Linked DNA regions of Homo sapiens: all the other regions are linked to region 7. The links are contacts of gene promoters, found by promoter capture Hi-C in blood cells and fetal thymus (Javierre and others, 2016). All regions are on one chromosome and are shown on one strand. The core of a region is centred on a gene start or on the middle of the fragment in contact, and the rest is flanking DNA. Distances in the headings are between cores, read along the strand shown.

Region 1 (2,700 bases), core at 66-2,565, 800 kb after region 7:
GTATTTTTCCCTTGGGGGAATTATTATTAAAAATATTTTTTCTCTGGAGGGAATTTCGCATAATGTTGTAACAACTTTAGTTGTAGCCTAATGCTTTTTCACTGTAAGTTTTTAGATTTTTATGTATAAAGAAACCCAGGAATCTAGAACTGAAAGTGAAAGTGAAATCTTACAGGGAACATACTGTTCTAATTCCAAAGCAAATCTGAGAGTCCTTGTAAATGTTGACAATTTCCTGGTCTGTTGATAACTTTCTAACATCTTGCAAATAAAATACAATTACACCAGCCTTGAATAAGTGCTAACGAAGATCAAATTTACAAAGAAACCTCCTCTAATGTAAAGCTTTAGTCAAGATAATGAAGTTTACCCCTCATAAATGGTGGCTTACTTTATTTTATACTGATAGTACTCTAATAAAATATAATTTATATCATGTAAAGTACACAGATATTAAAAGCGTATAGCTTTATGATTTTGACAAATGAATGTACTCAGTTAACTATCAACCAGATCAAGATCAAGAACACCTTCCATTACCTCAGAAAATTCTTTCATGCTCTTTTGCAGTCAGTACCAAGCTATAATGCCCCCACCACCCCTCCCCCTCCCACAATCACTATTATGATTTATCACCCTAGATCTCATTTGTTTGTCCTTGAACTTCATACAAATGAAATCATATGATGTGTACTCATACTGGCTTCCTTCACTCAACATATTTCTTAGTTTCATCAATATTGTAACATGTATCAGTAATTTGTTCTTTTTATTGCATAGTAGTATTCCACTGTATAAATATACCATAGTTTCTTTTATTTTGAGACTGAGTTTTGCTCTTGTTGGCTAGGCTGAAGTGCAGTGGCGAGATCTCAGCTCACTGCAACTTCCACCTCCCGGGTTCAAGCGATTCTCCTGCCTCAGCCTCTTGAGTTGCTGGGATTACAGGTGTGCACCACCACGCCCAGCTAATTTTTTGTATTTTTAATAGAGATGGGGTTTCATCATGTTGGCCAGGCTAGTCTTGAACTCCTGACCCCAGGTGATCCACCTGCCTTGGCCTCCCAAAGTGCAGGGATTACAGGCATGAGCCACCGCGCCTGGCCTACCATAGTTTCTTTTTCTGTTTTCCTGCTAATGTACATTTGTGTTGTTGCCTGGTTCAATCCCTTGTGAAAAGAACTTATAAACTTTTTTTTTTTGAGACAGAGTCTCACTTTTTTGCCCAAGGTAGAGTGCAGTGGTGCCATCTCAGCTCACTGCAACCTCCACCTCCCAGGTTCAAGTGATTCTCGTGCCTCAGCCTCCTCGGTAGCTGGGACTACAGGCTCGAGTCACCATGCCCAGCTAATTTTTTGTACTTTTAGTAGAGATGGGGTTTCACCATGTTGCCCAGGCTGGTCTTAAAGTCCTGAGCTCAGGTGACCTGCCCGCCTTGGCCTCCAAAAGTGCTAGGATTACAGGCATGAGCTACCATGCCCAGCCCAGAACCTATAAACATTTTAGATTTTTTTTTCTTTAATAATATAGATGAGGTCTCACTATGTTGTCCAGGCTGGTCTCAAACTTCTGAGCTCAAGCTCAAGTGATCCGCCCAACTCAGCCTCCCAAAGTACTAGGATTACAGGTGTGCCCAGCCATTGTGCCCAGCCCATTTTAGTTTTTCTTTTGGTGAACCTATGAATTCTTCCTGTTGGCTAAATACCTGGATACGGAATTGCCATTGGGTAGGTGTATGTTTTATTTTTATTAGAAATTGCCGAAAGTTTTACAAAGTCTTTGCACCATTTTACACTCTCACCAGCAGTGTATAAGAGTTCTAGTTGCTACACATCTTTCCCAAGGCTTAGTATTGTGAGCCTTTTTAAGTTTAGCTCTTCTTTTGGGTATGTGGTGGCATCCCATTATGCTTTTTTCTATCCCTGTTGATTAATGATGTTGACTATATTTCCATATGCTTCTCGACACTTTAGATATCATATTTTGTGAGGTGCCTGTTCAAATCTTCCTCCAATTTTTAAATTGAATTGATTGACTTCAGGGAATTCCTTATATACCCTGGGTTGAGTCCTGTCATTGACATGTGCACTGTGAACAGTTTCTCCCCATTTGTAGCTTGTCTTTACGCTTCATTAATAGTTTCTTTTGATAAGTAGAATATTTTAATTCCATGAAGTCCAACTTATAATATTTTTAAGTTCAGTGTGTTTTATATCATGTTTAAGAACGCTTTGCCTATCCCAAGATTATGAAGATTTTCTTCTATATTTTCTTTTAGAAGCTTTGTGATATTCACTTTTCTATTTAGGACTATTGAAATGTAAAAAGGGCTGGGCGCGGTGGTTCATGCCCGTAATCCCAGCACTTTGGGAGCCCAAGGCAGGTGGATCACGAGGTCAGGAGTTGGAGACCAGCCTGGCCAATATGGTGAAACCCCGTCTCTACTAAAAATACAAAAATTAGCCAGACGTGGTGGCGTGCGCCTGTAGTCCCAGCTACTCGGGAGGCTGAGGCAGAAGAATCGCTTGAACCCGGGAGGTGGAGGTTGCAGTGAGCTGAGATCGCCCCACTACACCCCAGCCTGGGTGACAGAGCGAGATTCCGTCTCAAAAATAAATAAATACATAAATAAAATAAATGGAAAAAGTTCCCTTGTCCCCCTCGCAGGGCTTGCGACAGACGGAATGGCTCACTTCTTCA
Region 2 (2,700 bases), core at 68-2,567, 520 kb before region 7:
TTAAGAATTAGAAATGTCTATAGTAACAGCACTTTACTATTTTGGGAAATTCTCACCCAGTGAGGTTAAGTTACAAATAATGTTATTGGTTGACAAAGAAACTTCCTAAAAATACATTTATCTGAACAACAGACTGCACAACCAGCTCCCTCTTCAGACAATAGATTACTCATCAGGATTTATAGCCCTCGTGGTACAATATAAAGTATATTTAGCCTTTGCCCCATGTTGATGAAAAAAGCCAAACTCTGTAAAATATTTGAAAAGGTTTATCCTGAGCCAAATGTAAGGGCCATGACCTGTGACACAGCCTCAGGGGGCCCTGAGAACATGGGCCCAAAGTGTATGTGTTATGGCTTGATTTTATACATTTTAGGCAAACACAAGTTACAGGCAAAGACATACATCAATAAATGTAAGTAATACATTGGTTTGGCCCAGAAAGCTGGAACATCTCAAAGCAGGAGCTTCCAGGTCTTAGGTGGATTTAAAGATTTCCTGATTTGCAATTGCTTGAATGAGTTAAGCTTTGCCTAGAGAGTTAAAATCAGCAAAAAGAAATGCTTAGGGTTAAAATAGAGGGCTTATGGAAGCCAAAGTTCTTGTTATATAGATGAAGTCTCCAGGTAAGCAGGCTTCAGAAAGAGTAGATAGTAAATGTCTTTTTTTTTTTTTTTGAGGCAGCATTAACATTAAAGTAGAGATCCTTAGACTCACAGAATAAACTCTTTGTAGCAATAAGATACCAAGTCCAGCCTAACTCTGGTATAACATCACATGACAGATAACAGGCCCTATCTCTCCTAAAAACCCCATCTCTCCTAAAAATACAAGAAATTAGCCAGGTGTGGTGGCACACACCTGTAATCCTAGCTATTTGGGAGGCTGAGGCATGAGAACTGCTTGAACCCAGGAGGCGGAGGTTGTGGTGAGCTGGGATCATGCCACTGCTCTCCAGCCTGGGCAACAGAGTGAGACTCTGTCTCAAAAATAAATACATAAATAAGTAAAGTATTCAGCATGTCAAAGCACCAAACTTTTGGGGTATTATTTTCTGAGTCCCAACATTAGGAAGACTTGTTTGTTCAGCTTCTCTGTGTCCTTGTGTCTTCAGAGATAAGAATGTTTCTTTATTCTGAGTTTAAGGAGGGCACCTCAATAATGGACTTCTGACCTACTTCAGAAAAGAAGGGTGAGGGTAAAGTGGGGATGACCTTCCTAATTCTGCTGTTTTCTTAAATGCCAATGTGCCATATTTTGGGGTATGTGTCCACTGTCATGTCTCCAATGTCTCCTTCTGTGTAGACATCCAAACAGCCCTCTGGCATTCCTTAAACTGAATCAGGCTCTTCTACCTCCCTGGTCTTTGCACACATTGTTCCTGTAGCCCACAGTGTTTGCACACCCCTTTCCACCTGGAAAATCCATTTATCCTTCAGGATAGGACTGGATGTCCCTGATAGTTGGCCATTCCCTCCTCTCTGCTTTCTGAGCATTTTTCATTAATCCATATTTTTAATACTTACCTATGTTATATCTATTTTTCTGCCTCTCCCTTGAACTGAATAATGAGTCATTCCAGAATAAGGATGAGATGATTTTTGTCCAACTGAGGAGCTAGACAACCTGGATTTCATTTCTCTCTCTTCCACTTTCTGTTTGGCTTTGGTCAAGCTACCTAACTGCTCTTTGACTCAGTTTCCTTATATGTAAAGTCGGGGTAATAATAGTGTCTAATTCATAGGATTATTGAATGGATCAAATGAGCTTCTATGTATCCAACTTTGCTGGCAAACCTCCAAGTTTTTCTGTCTTATTCTTTGAACCAGGGCTTCTTTGAATCTATTTTTTTTTTTTTCTGTTTTGTGGGAGCTGGGAAGGTGGTAGTGACCAACAGCACTCAGGATACCAGTGAGATAGCAGAGAGGGAGAGAGACTTACAGAAAATTTAAGAGTGAAGACTTTGGTATGTAGCCTTGCCATGGATGAATAAATGAATGAAAAAATAAAATTTAAAAATATCTAATAGGTGAATGTATGGAGAAAAGACCAAGATGAAAATGGTATGAATTTTAAAAAGCATGAAGGCATAAATGATTCAAGCTTTAGGATACATAACAAATTAATATACAAACATCACTTAAAAATAATGACACCTTGAGTCTATGGTGGAATTCATTGTTTTACTTTAGAATAATAGAATTAAAAGTTCAGGTTTATTGAGCACTTATTACACATAGCATCATTCCCAATGCTCTATTTTTATTATCTCATTAAATCTTCACAACAGCTCTGTTACAGATGAAGAAACAGCATTAAGAAGTTAAGTAAATTGCTCAAATTCATACAACTGATGAGAGTTAGGGCTGCAGTTTGAACCAAAGCAGATGAGGCTCTTTTATACTATTTACAATTCAGATATATATAAATCATGTATTAATTCAGAAATTTGAAGTGCTTGAGAAAAGGCACAGCTATTAATGATTAGATGCCAGCCCAAAAATATGCATTCTCAGGTTTTCACATTCAATGTGACTCCAAAATGAAGCAACTTATTCCAAAATTCTATGGTCAAATCTCTTGAATATCAGTAGTCAGATGTGCTTAGAATTTTCCGATATACATTGCGTGTAATAGAGGAGGAAGGGGAGGTGGAAGACAAGAGAAAGAGAGGAATGGGAAGGATTTATATAAAACAAT
Region 3 (2,774 bases), core at 61-2,560, 1.0 Mb after region 7:
GAAAACAAGAGAACAATTATTTGACTCCCCCAGGAGACTGAAGTGGACCGAGAGGCCGCAAAGGAAAGGGGCCCAGGGCTCAACTTCACAAACTCGGCCGCCGCTGGCAACACACCCACACACAAATGCCAGAGGCCCCCCTCCCCCTTTCCCAGCCCGGCCCGGCGGGAGCGAAGGTGCGGAGCGCGCGGAGGCGCGCGCATTGTGCAAGCCCACCGCGGCCCAGGCCCGACTTTTCCCCACCCCCTTCCTTCCTCCCCACCCCTCCTCCACTCCCGCCAACCTCTCGGGAACCCCGGGAAGAAAGAAAGGAAGAAGGAGGGAAAGCACGCCCCCCGGGGCTGCAACCGCAGAGAGAAACTCAGAAGGGAAAAACAAATCTCAGCCCCGGACTCTGGGAGGAGTGGGGAGCTGGTCACCGCGGCGGAGTGGACGACTCCAGTTCCACTTCGCCTCGGGACCCCCACCCCAGCTAGAGTTCCCGCAACCCCCCTCCCCTGACCAGAGCTGGCGGCCGCGGCTCCCGAGCGCCCCCCCGGTCTGAGGCCCGCCCGACGGGGAAACGGGGAGAGGGGCAACGAGGTTACCTGTCGGGAGTGGGATTTGGGCTCCGGCGGCTTGAAGAAGGAGTCGGGCAGCTTCCGGAGCCTCATGGGCACGGTCTGGGGCACGTTGGCCGTCTTGGGGTTCATGACGGCGTTGAAGAGCGCCTCCAGGTCGGTCTCCGAGTCCCCGCGGACGTGCACGATCTGATGCCCGGCGGGGGGTGCCTGCGGCGCCGCCTGGGTCGCCGCGGGTGCCGGTTGCCCGGGTCCGGACGGCGGGCCCTGCCCCTGCGGGGGCTGCGAAGGCGGCTGCCCTTGGCCCTGGGGGGCCGGTTGAGGCGGCGGCTGCTGCCCGGGATCCATGGCTTCTGCCTCCCCCGACGCGCACCCCCTGACCCAGGCGAGCGAGGGCTACGCCCGGACGCCCCGGCTCCACGGGCCGAGGTGGAGAAGCGGCGACGGCTGCGGGCCGGGCGGCGCTGTCCTCGCTCTCAGGGCCGGGGGGCTGCGCCGCGGCCCCGCATCCCCCGCCCCGGCGCCTCCGCCCCCGCCCTGCGCCCCGGCTCCACTGGTCTGGCGGCTGCGCCTCGGGAGGGGCTGCGAGGCACTCGGACCTGCGGCGCCTGAGAACTTTTTCCCTCCAACTCCCTTGACGGAGGCCGGACAGCTCGTTGCCTTTCCCCGCCTCCCCTTTCTCTTTATTTCCTTTTCTTGTTCCTTCCTTCCTCCCTTTCTTTTCCCTGGCGGCGGCTGCGCCCGACTGAGACAGAAACTCGCCTCAAACGCCAAAACTAAAGTTAGGAGAAGCGCCCGCCCGCGCCGCCGCGGCCCCGCCTCCTCTCGGCTCTTCCTTCCTCTGCGCGCCCGCCCGCACCGCGGCCCGGCCGGCAGCGCAGGGAAACTTTTCGCTGCAAGTTGCTACATTCCTGCACACTCCCGGCCCGCGGCGCCTCTCCCGGCCGCACGTGACCCGCTCGCCCTGGCCCGGTCCGCCCTTCGCCCGCGCTCAGCCGGGCAGGGGCCCGAAGCGTGCCCCGTATTCTGCCCCGCGAACCGCAAACGATGGGTCCAATCCGGGTCCGAACTGTGGTGTCTGCGGAGAACGCGGGCGCCCTTGGCTGCAGGAAGTTCTTCCGCTCCGCTCGGCCCCTTTTCCCCGCCCGTGCTCGGGAAAGGCGCTTCCAGTTCGCCTGGACCTGCGAAAGGGCCAAGGCCGAAAGAAGTGGAGAGAGGATGTGCGAACCCACCTCCTCCTCCTCGCGTTACCCCGGCTTGACCGAGCGGAGCGCCTGTGCGAGCTTAAAGCCGCGAGGATAGATTGGAGTTAAAATAGATACCGTGAGCCGGCATTGATGTTAATAAAGATCCATTGTTTTCAGCATTAACTTTATTTTGTAATTGTTTCACTTATCTGTTAGTCTGCAAAAACTCACTTGAGAGGGGTAAACGGTTACTGTAATTGAAGCTTTGAGACCAGGTCTGTAACTCAGTGTAACTTATTAAAAGAAACAAAAACACTACATTTTCCAAATAGTGAAATCACATCAACTTTTTTAGTACTCGAATTTGCAATAGTCACTGGAAGCCGCAACCCAAAAAATTAGTGCGTCTTCAGGTACAAGCATTCATGCCTCTGTACCTGTCTTTCATCCTCAAGGAGCTGGGTCCCTACCCCTGCTATCCCTGTGCCTGGCCCAACGGTGGACTCCGTTAATGTGGACTGAATAAGAAATGAATGGGCAAGGAGGTCATCCCAGGCACCTGATGTACAAGGAGCCCTTCTGGAAGCCACTCAAAAACAATAGAAATGTTTTTTAAGTCATACACTCTGGGTTTTTTTTTTTTAAAGCATCCTTGTTGAGATATAATTTATATACCATACAGTTTTTGCAATAGTTGTACATATTAGTATATTTAAGCAATTCACTGTTTTTTTAAATATATTCATAGGATTGTGCAACATCAGTCTAATTTTAAATGCACAAGCCCATTCTAAGGAAATCTGGCTTTCTTGTTTTAATGATTTTGTCTACAATGCTAGTGAAACAAAGGTATAAGTAGGATTAAGCAAGGAAAAAGTCCGTGAGCAAAAAGGTAATTTCTTCCTTCAGCCAGAACATGCCCAGGAGAATTCTGAAGGATCTGTATCACTTGGTGTGGTAGGGCTCGGCCAAAGGAGCAGGCCTCAGACACTCAAAATTCTAACAGAAGATTCCAATCAACTACTCT
Region 4 (2,700 bases), core at 89-2,588, 660 kb after region 7:
GGGAAATGCTTGGATAATGGGGTAGTCACCAGAACGGTTTATTCCTAAACCAGATTCCCCAGTTAAATAGAATAACCAAAATCGAAATGTGCAATGCTTGCTTTTTGTCCATGATAAGCTGCAGGGGAAACATTTGCAGGTTGGCTGACTGAATCCACAGATGGAAGTCTCTGTAAATTTAGGACAGATTGTCTCAGTTAATCTCTAGGACCAGTCAGACCTCTGTAATGATGGATTTGCCTGACATGAGAAAGTTCTACCTCTCATAACACAGTTTTCAAAAGTTAACTGCAATGTGGCCTTTATGTGATGAAATCTGGCTCAGGTGCCAAAGATCTGCAACATTAAGACCTTTGCAGGTGGGGATTCACTGTGATTTTAGGTTCCTTGGATCCTTCAGTCTTCTACTTCAGCTGAGGGTTCCCACCCAAGCCAGGACTCAGCCTTTGTTATTCTCATGCATTAGCCACAGGTAGCTATGTCACTTCAGAGTTCTGAGCACGATGAAAATGCAGACTTTACAAGCACTTCAAGTCAAGACAAGTGATTAGCATTGGCTCCAAGGGTTTAAAAGGAACTCAGCCAAAAACTGTTCAAAACTGGCCATTTCATCTGAACTGGGACAGCAGGGCACAAGGAGAGAAAAGGCTGGTTGGATTAATGCAGCCCCCGCTTTCCATGGCTCTACTGTATTTCACTGAGAGTTGCTACCAACTCCTGCGCGCGCCCCCACCCGCCCACTCCACTAATCTCGTGTCTTAATCAGAGATACAGGGAACCCGTGGAGAAGATGAAGTACAACTGGGATAAGAAGATCGTAGGTGTTTTACGTTTGAATTTAAGCAACAAATCTGTCGAGCTGTTTTTCTCCACTTCCCCCTTAGGCTGGGTCACGCGAGGGGAAAGCTCCGACCGCCCAGGACTCCTTAGAGTGAATCCCATCCCCTCAAGTTCCTCTCCAGAATCTCCCCCTCCTCCCGCCTTTGCCCTGCAACTCCTCCCTCTCACTCTGAGTCGCACGCACCCCTGTCCCCTCCCTGCCCGCAAAACTACTCTTCAAAGGCTTCCTTCCGGGCACCGCGAAGCCAGCGTGCTCAGCATTCAGGGAGGCAGCGGCGCTCGCCTTCATCCAGGACAACAAAACTGCCATTTCCGAAGAGAAAGGAAACGGCTCGCGGTTTCTGGGGTTCCCAAGCGCGCGCCTGCGAGGGAGGCCGCGAGCCGAGTCGCCACGCCCAGAACCCCGAGCCCGCCCCCGCGCCACCCAGCCCGGCCCCGCCGCCCCGGCTGCGCACGCGACGCCCCCTCCAGGCCCCGCTCCTGCGCCCTATTTGGTCATTCGGGGGGCAAGCGGCGGGAGGGGAAACGTGCGCGGCCGAAGGGGAAGCGGAGCCGGCGCCGGCTGCGCAGAGGAGCCGCTCTCGCCGCCGCCACCTCGGCTGGGAGCCCACGAGGCTGCCGCATCCTGCCCTCGGAACAATGGGACTCGGCGCGCGAGGTGCTTGGGCCGCGCTGCTCCTGGGGACGCTGCAGGTGCTAGCGCTGCTGGGGGCCGCCCATGAAAGCGCAGCCATGGCGGGTAAGTGGCTGCGGGGGTCGTCAGCCCCGTTCGTGGGAGGCAGCGCGCTGCCGAGGCTTGGGTTCCCAAGTTGGGCTCTGGTACAGAAAGTTCCGCGTGTGTCTGGCCGAACGCTCGGGGCGGACCCAGAGGTGACCGGGCGGGGTGGGGGAAACTGAGGTTTGGACCAGTCACCCGCTGGCCCCGGGGCCGCCTGCTGAGGAAATTGCCTGGTGCTTCCCCTCTCGCTTTTTGGATGCGGCGGTCGCAGGCCGGGACGGGTGCGCATAACCTGTTGAGTTACCGCAAGTTGGTTTTTACAGCCTTTCCCTGAAGTTAATGTTTGCCGAGGTTAGAGTTTCTAAGGCTTCCGTTTGTAAACAAGATTAGCTGAGTTGAAAAATATGTCTACCTAGGCCCGCGGAAACGTCTCCCAGTTAGTCGGGGAGCTTTTCAAGCGTCCCCCAGGCATTTCAGCGTCTAATATTATGCAGTATTATCCAGATGAATTACAATCTTTAGGTCCCCCTGACGCTCGAAGTTAGACTTCGGGGCTCTTGGAGCTAGTTGGGAGCTTTTGGGGAGCGCGCCCCGCCCTCGCGGTAGTTGAGGCGGCCGCCCCCATGGCGGGGCGCTCTCCACCCCTCGTGTGCCATAAACACCCGGCCGAGGCGCGCGGCAGCTGCGCAGCGTTAAGGGCACAGCTGCACGGTCGCCGGTGGCCCTTGTCGTCGCTAGTAAGGTCGTAACAGGATGATGTTGACTTTGCTTTTCTGTGTAGGGCGGAATTTGTTTCGTTTTAGGCCCTTGGCCCTTTGGAGACTTCAAACAGCCCTTTTTGGATGAAACCAGGAAGTTGGGATTTGTTGTGTAAATACTGTTTTCCTTTGTCAACTGTTAGAGAAGTCAGGTCCCTAGGTAATGGTCAGTAAACTAGGATAAGTTAAGTAACCCAAGGTTTTCATGGTTTTAAGTTCTATCCATCCACTGTATATGTTAGCCTTAGGTTCGTTTTATCCAGCAAAAGAAAAAGGCAGTTTGTAAATCTGGAAGGTTCAGGCACAACACTTGCTTTTTCTGGAATAACCTGGGTGAATTAACAATTTTTCTTTGTTTTGCTGAAGTTTTTTTGTTTGCTTAAT
Region 5 (2,700 bases), core at 149-2,648, 850 kb after region 7:
CCCAAGCTACTTTGCAATCTAGAATAAAGACATTGACATGAAGTTTCCATTCATCAGATGAACTGGAAGCAAGTGATTCAAAAAAGCAGAAACCATACTGACTCTATTCTGGCACACGCAGCCTCCCTCCTACAGCCACTTCCCAGAGGCAGCAGGAACAGACATTTCGTGTCCTTGTCCAAAACTGATGATGTTAGAGGTGCAAGTGGCTGTGTGTGTCTGCCCAGCAGACTCACTCTGTAGCATGAGTTTGGGCACGTGTGATGGTTAATGTTGGGTGTCAGCTGAACTAGATTGAGGAGTGCCTAGATGGGACTAATGAGGCAATTACAAAGTCAGACTAAGGGGAGAGTTTTTGCTACTTTATATTAGAGGAAAAAAATAGGCTACCTAAGGTTTATTCTGAGGGCGCCAGATTAAGTAGGAAAGATGAAAACTTTAGGCTGAAATCATCAATGTGAATGAAATTATCAGAGATTCTGAAATCGCTAGGCTAGATCAAACAGCTGGGAGCAATTCTCATTGTGTGCTCCATTTCTATTTTAAAAGCTGGCCCATTGGCTGGGCGCGGTGGCTCATCTGCAATCCCAGCACTTTGGGAGGCTGAGGTGGGAGGATCATTTGAGGTCAGGAGTTCGAGACCAACCTGGCCAACATAGTGAAAACCCGTCTCTACTAAAAATACAAAAATTAGCCAGGCATGGTGGTGCAGGCCTGGAATCTCAGCTACTTTGGAGGCTAAGACACGAGAATCATTTGAACCTGGGAGGTGGAGGCTGCAGTGAGCCCAGGTGGCATCACTGCACTCCAGCCTGGGCGACAGAGTGAGACTGTGTCTCAAAACAACAACAACAAAATAGCTGGCCCACTGTGGCAAGCTATTGCCCAGACCTGCAACGACAAAGCCTCAAGCAGGCCTGAGGATGCAGAAAGGCATAAAAACAGCAGGAACCAGATTATGTCCCTGCAGTGAGATGAGAAGTTTTCTTTTTTATTTTCTGGAAATAGGTGGGACCCTTGAAATAATGGACAGCCTAAAGTGGTATCAAAGGCAGTCATGTTTCTCAACTCCATTGACCTGATGAATTCATCACTCTGGGAGGGCTGTTGAGACCACCAAACTGAGGGTACACCTCTGTAATTAACGATGGGGATCCTGGCCAGGCGCGATGGCTCAAGCCTGTAATCCCAGCTACTCCAGAGGCTGAGGCAGGAGTACCGCTTGAACCCAGGAGGCCGAGGTTGCGGTGAGCCGAGATCATGCCACTGCATTCCAGCCTGGGTGACAGAGTGAGACTCTTGTCTCCAAAAAAATAAAGTGGGGGATCCCAGCTGGGCACAGTGGCTCACGCCTATAATCCCAGCACTTTGGGAAGCCAAGGCAGGTGGATCATTTGAGGTCGGGAGTTGGAGACCAGCCTGGCCAACATGGTGAAACCCCATCTCTACTTAAAAAAATATGAAAATTATCCGGGCGTGGTGGCAGGCACCTGTAATCCCCTCTACTGGGGAGGCTGAGGCCAGAGAATCGCTTGAACCCAGGGGGCAGAGGTTGCAGTGAGCCGAGAATGTGCCAGTGTACTCCAGCCTGGGCAACAGAGGGAGACTCTGTCTCAAAAAAAAAAAATAATAATAATAATAATAATAAATACATAAGTAATTTTAAAAAGGAGATCCTGAGGTGCTCGTTTACTCACACCAACATGTATTCTTAATCATGTGTGAAGGTTTTGAAGCAATTGTAAAGTCTAGTGAGAGAAGCCTTAGCTAAGTCTGAGCTGTCATTCTCACCAATGTACAAACCTTGGTCTCCTTTGTGGTCTGCCGTAGCTTACCCATGCTAATTGAAGTTGAGGTGCCAGAAATTCCTTAGTATAATACAAAGGAAGTAATTCAAAGGCTTAGGAAAATAGGAATGCTGGAGTGGTTTTTTAATGGGTGAACTGCTCACTCCTCACCAAAATATGTCCCTTAAAGAGCTAGAAGATAGTGTTCACCAATACTTTTTTTTTTTTTTTAAAGATGGAGTCTTGCTCTTGTCACCCAGGCTGGAGTGCAGTGATGAGATTTTGGCTCACTGCAACTTCCACCTCCCGGGTTCAAACAATTCTCCTGCCTCAGTCTCCAGAGTAGCTGGGATTACAGGTGCCTGCCACCATGCCTGGCTAATTTTTTTTGTATTTTTAATAGAGAAGGGGTTTCACCATGTTGGCCAGGCTGGTCTCGAACGCCTGACCTCAGGTGATCCACCCGCCTCAGCCTCCCAAAGTGCTGGGATTACAGGTGTGAGCCACCGTGCCCGGCCAGTGTGCACCAAGACTTTGAGAAACACTGGAAAGGGAAGCACCAGCATCTTTGAATATTGCTATACTGGCCATCAGAAAAATGTCTAAATTGAAATGAGCTTCCTGATTTCTATGGGGAGAAAAAGCATGATCCAGGATGGCGGAGGTTAGGCAAAGGCATGGTGGATGTTCTTACGAAAATAGGCAGCATGGTCGGGGTAATGTTCGGAATAACAGGATCTCTGTTACCTGGCAGTAGGTGATTGATTATGGGTCCCCTATGACCAAATTACAGGGCAGCTCATGCAGGTTCTGCCTGATCTGTATAGTAATTAAAAAACAAGAACGTCTCTACGATAGGGTGAACAGAGGCCTGACTTGAACCACCCTGATGGTGATTTAAAGATTCACAACT
Region 6 (2,700 bases), core at 134-2,633, 830 kb after region 7:
CCCACCAAAAAAAAGTGGTTGCAAATCATAGATCCAAAATGTATTTGAGGCAGAAGATTGTTCAGAACAAAAATCACTGAAAAGATACATTTTTAGACATAGCTCCTTTACAATTACTTCTTGATAGACAATGGAATTTAACTCTGCACTTACATTCTAATTCTACTTTGACAACGGAACCATTGGAAAAATGTTGGCGTATATTTCTCCAGTTTTGGTTTTATATTTTCTTTATAACTTAAAAAATCTAATTATCATTCTTTTTTGAGAAGGCACTCAATAAATGCTTTTTGAATGAATGATCCAGTCTGTTAAAACTGAAACATTTGCATTCACCCTGGCTTAGGCAAAATTGTAATGAAAGTTATCTTGAACATGCACAGTCTGCGTTTTTCTCTCTATACGGTATGTCTTCTATTAATGTTGTTTTTAAACAACCTTTTCCCTTTCCTTCTCTTGCTGAGATCTCAATACCCTTGCGATCCCTTCCACTTTTTATTAAAACCTGTGCTTAGGGTGAATAAGAGCGTTACTCTTAGAATATTGTAAATAACTTCTAGCAGCAAACTGTTTTACTACACTGTTGGGCTCATTTGCATTTTAATAGAATGAATGAAGCTTTGCATCTGGCATGTTAATACTCAGGGAGCCAACAGGTGGGGAAAACATTTCTTCCAGGAACCTCAGGTAAACTTCTGCTTCAGAAATCATGTCCCATAAGAAGTCACCTCCTTCACCTATGAGGAAAGACAACCACGCTGTCACTGGGCGGAATGGTCACAGCTGGCCTGTGGTGGAATCATGCATTGTAACAGGCAAAGGCTCCAATCAAGCCTGTCCTCTACCCTAGATCTGGGGCTGATAGCATTCTGCAAGAACAGCCACAAAATAAGAACAGGAATCATCTGCACTTTGGAAACACCAACACACTGAGACCTGTTTTGGAAAAAAACAGTGTCTGAAATGGAAAGCTTAGGGGAGACACTTCAAACTCAAAGAACTCCCTGCTGAGATTTTAAAGCCCCACCACATAAAGAAAAAACCTTGACGTGTTTGACTAGCAATTGACAATTTATGTAAAATATCAACTTTCATATCACCAATATTTATATCGCCTAACTTTTATAAGGAACATAAAATATACACATGACTATTCGACCTGCCAAGAAATGATAGCTTGGTATACTGTCATTGGCCTTGGATCATCGCTTGAATTGAGCAACATAATTCAGAGCACAGAGTCTCCGACTCACGGGGAATATAAAATTCTTATCCAAGGACAATGTAACCCGCTTGCAAATATAATAGCGCACGTGCAATTCATCGCGTCTCTCTTTCCCCTTTTGTTCATTTGCTCTCCACTAGAGGATGTGATCTCTGAAACTTTGCTCTTTATGCCGATGGTTTGCAGGGGACTGAGTGAGAATGGGAGCTGAAAGAGAAACAAGACCTTCGAGTTCTCACATTACATTATACTTTCCAACCGTTTGAAGTTAGTGTAACCCTTTGCTAAGTACTTGGCAAACTTTAAACTATACATCTGTGAAGCTGGGTTTTTTTTTCCTTCACATTACCTTTCACCTACTTTAAAATAAACCACTCATTGTTCAAGAGGGAAAAATCAAATTTGTTTTTCCAAAGTAATCTATAATGGAGTAAAACATTGTTAGAAGGTTTGCAATTAACTAATTTACTGTGCAATAAATCTCAGAGGGAATGTAAATTAATGAGGAAATCACTTTTTACCTTCAATATTTAGGCTTCTATTTTCTTTATTAACAAAACATAAGCTTTTTTAAATTGGAAAAGTATATGAAGTTGATTTTTAAAATGTTTACACCATGGAGAAACATAAAATTAAAGTGAAAAAGTAATAGCTCATTTTCTTGTATATCTGGGTTTGTTTGGGTATTAAAATAATGAAAGCAAACACATGGAAATAAGAAATTTGTTTGCAAATGTATTAGATTTAACTTTAGTTTTAACTCTATTTCCCCAGATTTTATCACTTAGAGATGACAAAAACTATTTTAAATCAGTTTAGAAAGTGTAAAGAGGAGGCCTACTGTGTTCCAGGCATGATGTTAGGTATCAGAGGTGATATGAAGATGGAATGACCTGGAATCCTTAACTCTGTAATAGACATTTGTATAAAATAAAATGGAAACTTCATACCTTGGCTGGTAAGGGCTTTAATGATCTTCTTTGCCTGGTTCCCACTGCTTTATCATACACACCTTGTCCTACAGCCATACAAAATTATTTTTAATTCTCCAAATATGCCAAACCTTCCCAAGCCTTTATGCCTTTGCAAATACAGTTGTCTCTTGGTATCCATCGGGGTTTCAGGACCCTCTGCAGATACCAAAATCCAAGGATGCTCAAGTCCCTGATATAAAATGGTGTAATATTTGCATATAACCTACATACATCCTCTTGCATACTTTTGTTTGTTTGTTTTTGAGACAGGGTCTCACTCTGTCACGCAGGCTGGAGTGCAGTGGCATGATCTCAGCTCACTGCAACCTCTGCTCCTGGGTTCAAGTGATTCTCGTGCCTCAGCCTCCCAAGTAGCTGTGACTGCAGGTGTGCATCACCACGACTGCTTGCCTCAGCCTCCCAAAGTGCTGAGATTACAGGCGTGAGCCACCATGCCTGGCCTCTCTTGTATACTTTAAACCATTTCTAGATTACTTATAA
Region 7 (2,700 bases), core at 189-2,688:
ATACGAGCGAAACTGCGAACTGCGTCTAAAAAAAAAAAAAAAGGCACTGAATGTTTTTGCTGAGTGTCAAAAACTCTGCTAGACCTAGGGATAAGGGTGAACACCAAAGGAAGAGGTTTAAAATATGTCTTTGTTTTATTAACTTAAATCTATTTACTGAGTCCCCTTTAATGTGTCAGGCAATTTTCTTCTGTGTTTTTCTTTTAGGCTTATATATATAAGCCCTGATTGCAAATGCAACCCATTTTTTAAGCAATCCTGCCAGTGGAGGGAGCAGTGCAATTAATAAATCAGTATATCACATGATGTACACCAAAAAAGAATTCAAACTTTATTTTGAAATATATCATTTCACAAAAATTTAAATTCCTAACTAATCTTTCCCTTGGGCAATGTTAAAATCAGAGCCTGATCCAAAAAAGATAGACTAGAATTTGCCTTCCCCCCAAAAAAAAAACTCAAAAAGGGGAGAGAAAAAAATAAAAATAACTAAGTAAATGTTTTCTTTTTAGTTATAACGTATCTGCAGTCTTTCTTAAAAAGTAGAATATAGGCCGGGCGCGGTGGCTCATGCTTGCAATCCCAGCACTTTGGGAGGCCGGATCACTTGAGGTCAGGAGATGGAGACCCACATGGCCAACGTGGTGAAACCCCCGTCTCTACTGAAAATACAAAAATTAGCCAGGCGTGGCGGCGCGCGCCTGCTACTCGGGAGGCTGAGGCACGAGAATCGCTTGAACTCAGGAGGTGGAGGACGCAGTGAGCAGAGATCGCGCCACTACACTCCATCCAGCCTAAGCGACAGAACGAAACTCCGTATAAAAATTTAAAATAAAACACAATCTAATTGCTTCTATTCAGATGTATGGAAGGGAAACATGCTTCGGTCAGGTAGGATGCAAAGCTTGGAAACTACCTGCTTAAGCACGAGGCCAACGCATCTAAGCCAATAATGCAGGAGAAGTGGAGACAGCCTTGGGTTCCTGAAAAGGATCTGGTTGGTAAAGCTAAAGAGTGTGACCCGACGTCCCTCTGGCTGGGCCTGGGGACTTGAAGAGTGGTCAGGGGTCAGGCAGGAGTGCAAGGAACCGTACCGTGTTGGAAAAGGAGATTCCTGCGTCGGATCGCTGCACCCTGAGGAGCATCTGGTTGCCGTCATCCAAGAAGTTGTTGATTTCAAGACAGTTGCACAACAGTGGCTGATCCCAGAGTTCAGACATCAACCCGAAGTAATTCTGGGTAGTAGTGAAGATGAAGAGCTTCCGAACGTCCGCAGTCCCGTTCGCCATGATTGGAAGGGGTGGAGGGAAGTTGGGGGAAGGGGGAAGGAAGAAGAAACCAGTCCGGAGGGAAGTGAAGGGAAGAGAGGAGCTTTGCTCAAACCCGTAGCCCGACCGCGGGACCGCAGAGCTTCGCGGTTGCCAGGGGTAGTCGCTATGGCGACGGAGCACTACGGCGGCGTCGCTGGCGGCGCGCGGTGGGCGTTGCCCTCTCGGGGCACGCGCACGCAAAGCTCGCGGAGGCTATCGACCGCCTCGGAGCTCTTCAGCGGCTCCCTGCGGTCATCGATTGTAAGGGGTTCGGACAAGTTTATGTTGGCTCTCAAACATGTCTTTTATTCTTCTTACTGATTTCTTATCACGCATAATCAGAAGAGAGACATCTAGCCTTCAAGTACAGCAGCGTGATCTAGATTTAGGAGAGCTGGGTTCCAGTGCTCGCTCTCCACGTGCACCTGGTAGCAAACCAGTCTGTCAGCGTCAAGGTACACATCTGTTAAGAAGGGGAAATACTATCTCACAACCAGGGGTGTAGTGCGGATTGTAAAAGATTACTATTTAAAAATCGCTTTTTAGAGAAGCTTATAAAGACTAGGAATTCAATACAATGTTAATTTACTTTCTCAGTCGCCCTCTGCTCCTTTCTGTGCTGCTGCATTTCCCAACATCGTTTTTTCTATTATTAATTTTAGAATAATTTAACCAGCAATTTTTTATTGCAATCATTACCCGAGCACAACCATATTTGTAAAATAGCTAAAATGTAAAATGATACTTTTTAGTTTATTTTATAACAACCGCAACCAAATTCTGTGAAAATACAGATATGAAAACGGTCTTTGTCATTTTCTACTTCATGGCATTACTATAAACTACTAAATTGCTGGTCATTCATCCGAACATTCGTCAAACACTTTCTCAATTCAGTAATTCTCTTCTAAAAATATTTACTACATGCTATTAGGTTGGTGCAAACGTAATTGCGGTTTTTTGGCAAGAACTGTAATTACTTTTGCACCAATCTAACACAATTTGCCAAGTACCGAACTAGGCCCTGGGGACACAGTTCCTGCCCTCAGGAAGTTTTTGCTGTAGTCATTCATCACCTCAGCACTGGTTTGACCCAAGATCCTAGGGTACACAAACATATGCAGATTTTTTTTGTTTGCACTTAATAATCATAACCTCCCCTTAAAACTATACTATTTGAGAATTGGAAGGAGAGAGTCCTTTTATTTGCTGAGCAACTTAAGATTTTGGAGTGGGAACTTAAAAAAGCTGAACTGCTCTAAATTATAAAAGGAAATGAATGTAAATTCTCATGAAATATCCAAACAGTGAGAGATGGGAGTCTGGCCACTGGATGGGAAAACATCCAAACAGTGAGGTGGGATGCTGACCACTGGGTGAGGGAAAAAAT

Evidence for each region. Contacts are between HindIII fragments. The CHiCAGO score rates a contact against its expected background, and 5 or more counts as called.
Region 1: a contact is called between a fragment that was not itself captured here and the fragment with the promoter of DYNC2H1 in region 7, in 2 of 17 cell types (total CD8 T cells and naive CD4 T cells). The highest score is 5.9, in total CD8 T cells.
Region 2: a contact is called between a fragment that was not itself captured here and the fragment with the promoter of DYNC2H1 in region 7, in 1 of 17 cell types (erythroblasts). The highest score is 6.4, in erythroblasts.
Region 3: the fragment with the promoter of YAP1 here is called in contact with the fragment with the promoter of DYNC2H1 in region 7 in 2 of 17 cell types (activated CD4 T cells and M1 macrophages); the score reaches 5.5 in activated CD4 T cells.
Region 4: a contact is called between the fragment with the promoter of TMEM123 here and the fragment with the promoter of DYNC2H1 in region 7, in 1 of 17 cell types (naive CD8 T cells). The highest score is 5.1, in naive CD8 T cells.
Region 5: a fragment that was not itself captured here is called in contact with the fragment with the promoter of DYNC2H1 in region 7 in 1 of 17 cell types (activated CD4 T cells); the score reaches 5.5 in activated CD4 T cells.
Region 6: a contact is called between a fragment that was not itself captured here and the fragment with the promoter of DYNC2H1 in region 7, in 1 of 17 cell types (total CD4 T cells). The highest score is 5.3, in total CD4 T cells.

Annotation. Positions count from the first base shown.
Region 1 is chr11:102,310,381-102,313,080 of GRCh38, reverse strand. No RefSeq gene overlaps it. Among named protein-coding and RNA genes, the nearest start is that of BIRC3, 5.8 kb to the left of the region's middle. RefSeq lists an enhancer at 2,569-2,700. The HindIII fragment of the contact is 1,936 bases long and covers 348-2,283 here.
Region 2 is chr11:103,629,553-103,632,252 of GRCh38, reverse strand. The region is part of intron 3 of LOC105369463 (a long non-coding RNA gene); the gene reads left to right. Among named protein-coding and RNA genes, the nearest start is that of MIR4693, 220 kb to the left of the region's middle. The HindIII fragment of the contact is 1,576 bases long and covers 530-2,105 here.
Region 3 is chr11:102,108,983-102,111,756 of GRCh38, reverse strand. YAP1 (Yes1 associated transcriptional regulator) reads right to left here and starts at 1,310. Exons shown (of 9, transcript NM_001130145.3): 1 at 588-1,310. The coding sequence starts at 908. YAP1-DT (YAP1 divergent transcript) reads left to right here and starts at 1,300. Exons shown (of 1, transcript NR_198976.1): 1 at 1,300-1,930. RefSeq lists silencers at 1,398-1,527, 1,538-1,587. The HindIII fragment of the contact is 4,853 bases long and covers 1-2,012 here.
Region 4 is chr11:102,451,403-102,454,102 of GRCh38, reverse strand. TMEM123 (transmembrane protein 123) reads left to right here and starts at 1,338. Exons shown (of 5, transcript NM_052932.3): 1 at 1,338-1,579. The coding sequence starts at 1,480. TMEM123-DT (TMEM123 divergent transcript) reads right to left here and starts at 1,184. Exons shown (of 2, transcript NR_135053.1): 1 at 1,054-1,184. RefSeq lists enhancers at 975-1,084, 1,815-2,104, 2,285-2,334 and a silencer at 1,205-1,494. The HindIII fragment of the contact is 13,483 bases long and covers 1-2,700 here.
Region 5 is chr11:102,259,600-102,262,299 of GRCh38, reverse strand. No RefSeq gene overlaps it. Among named protein-coding and RNA genes, the nearest start is that of BIRC3, 57 kb to the left of the region's middle. RefSeq lists an enhancer at 819-1,323. The HindIII fragment of the contact is 6,538 bases long and covers 1-2,700 here.
Region 6 is chr11:102,278,565-102,281,264 of GRCh38, reverse strand. LOC105369460 (a long non-coding RNA gene) reads right to left here. Exons shown (of 5, transcript XR_007062863.1): 4 at 2,176-2,243; 5 at 26-1,432. Among named protein-coding and RNA genes, the nearest start is that of BIRC3, 38 kb to the left of the region's middle. The HindIII fragment of the contact is 819 bases long and covers 974-1,792 here.
Region 7 is chr11:103,108,164-103,110,863 of GRCh38, reverse strand. DYNC2H1 (dynein cytoplasmic 2 heavy chain 1) reads right to left here and starts at 1,438. Exons shown (of 89, transcript NM_001377.3): 1 at 1,095-1,438. The coding sequence starts at 1,289. RefSeq lists enhancers at 1,606-1,655, 1,726-1,845. The HindIII fragment of the contact is 957 bases long and covers 907-1,863 here.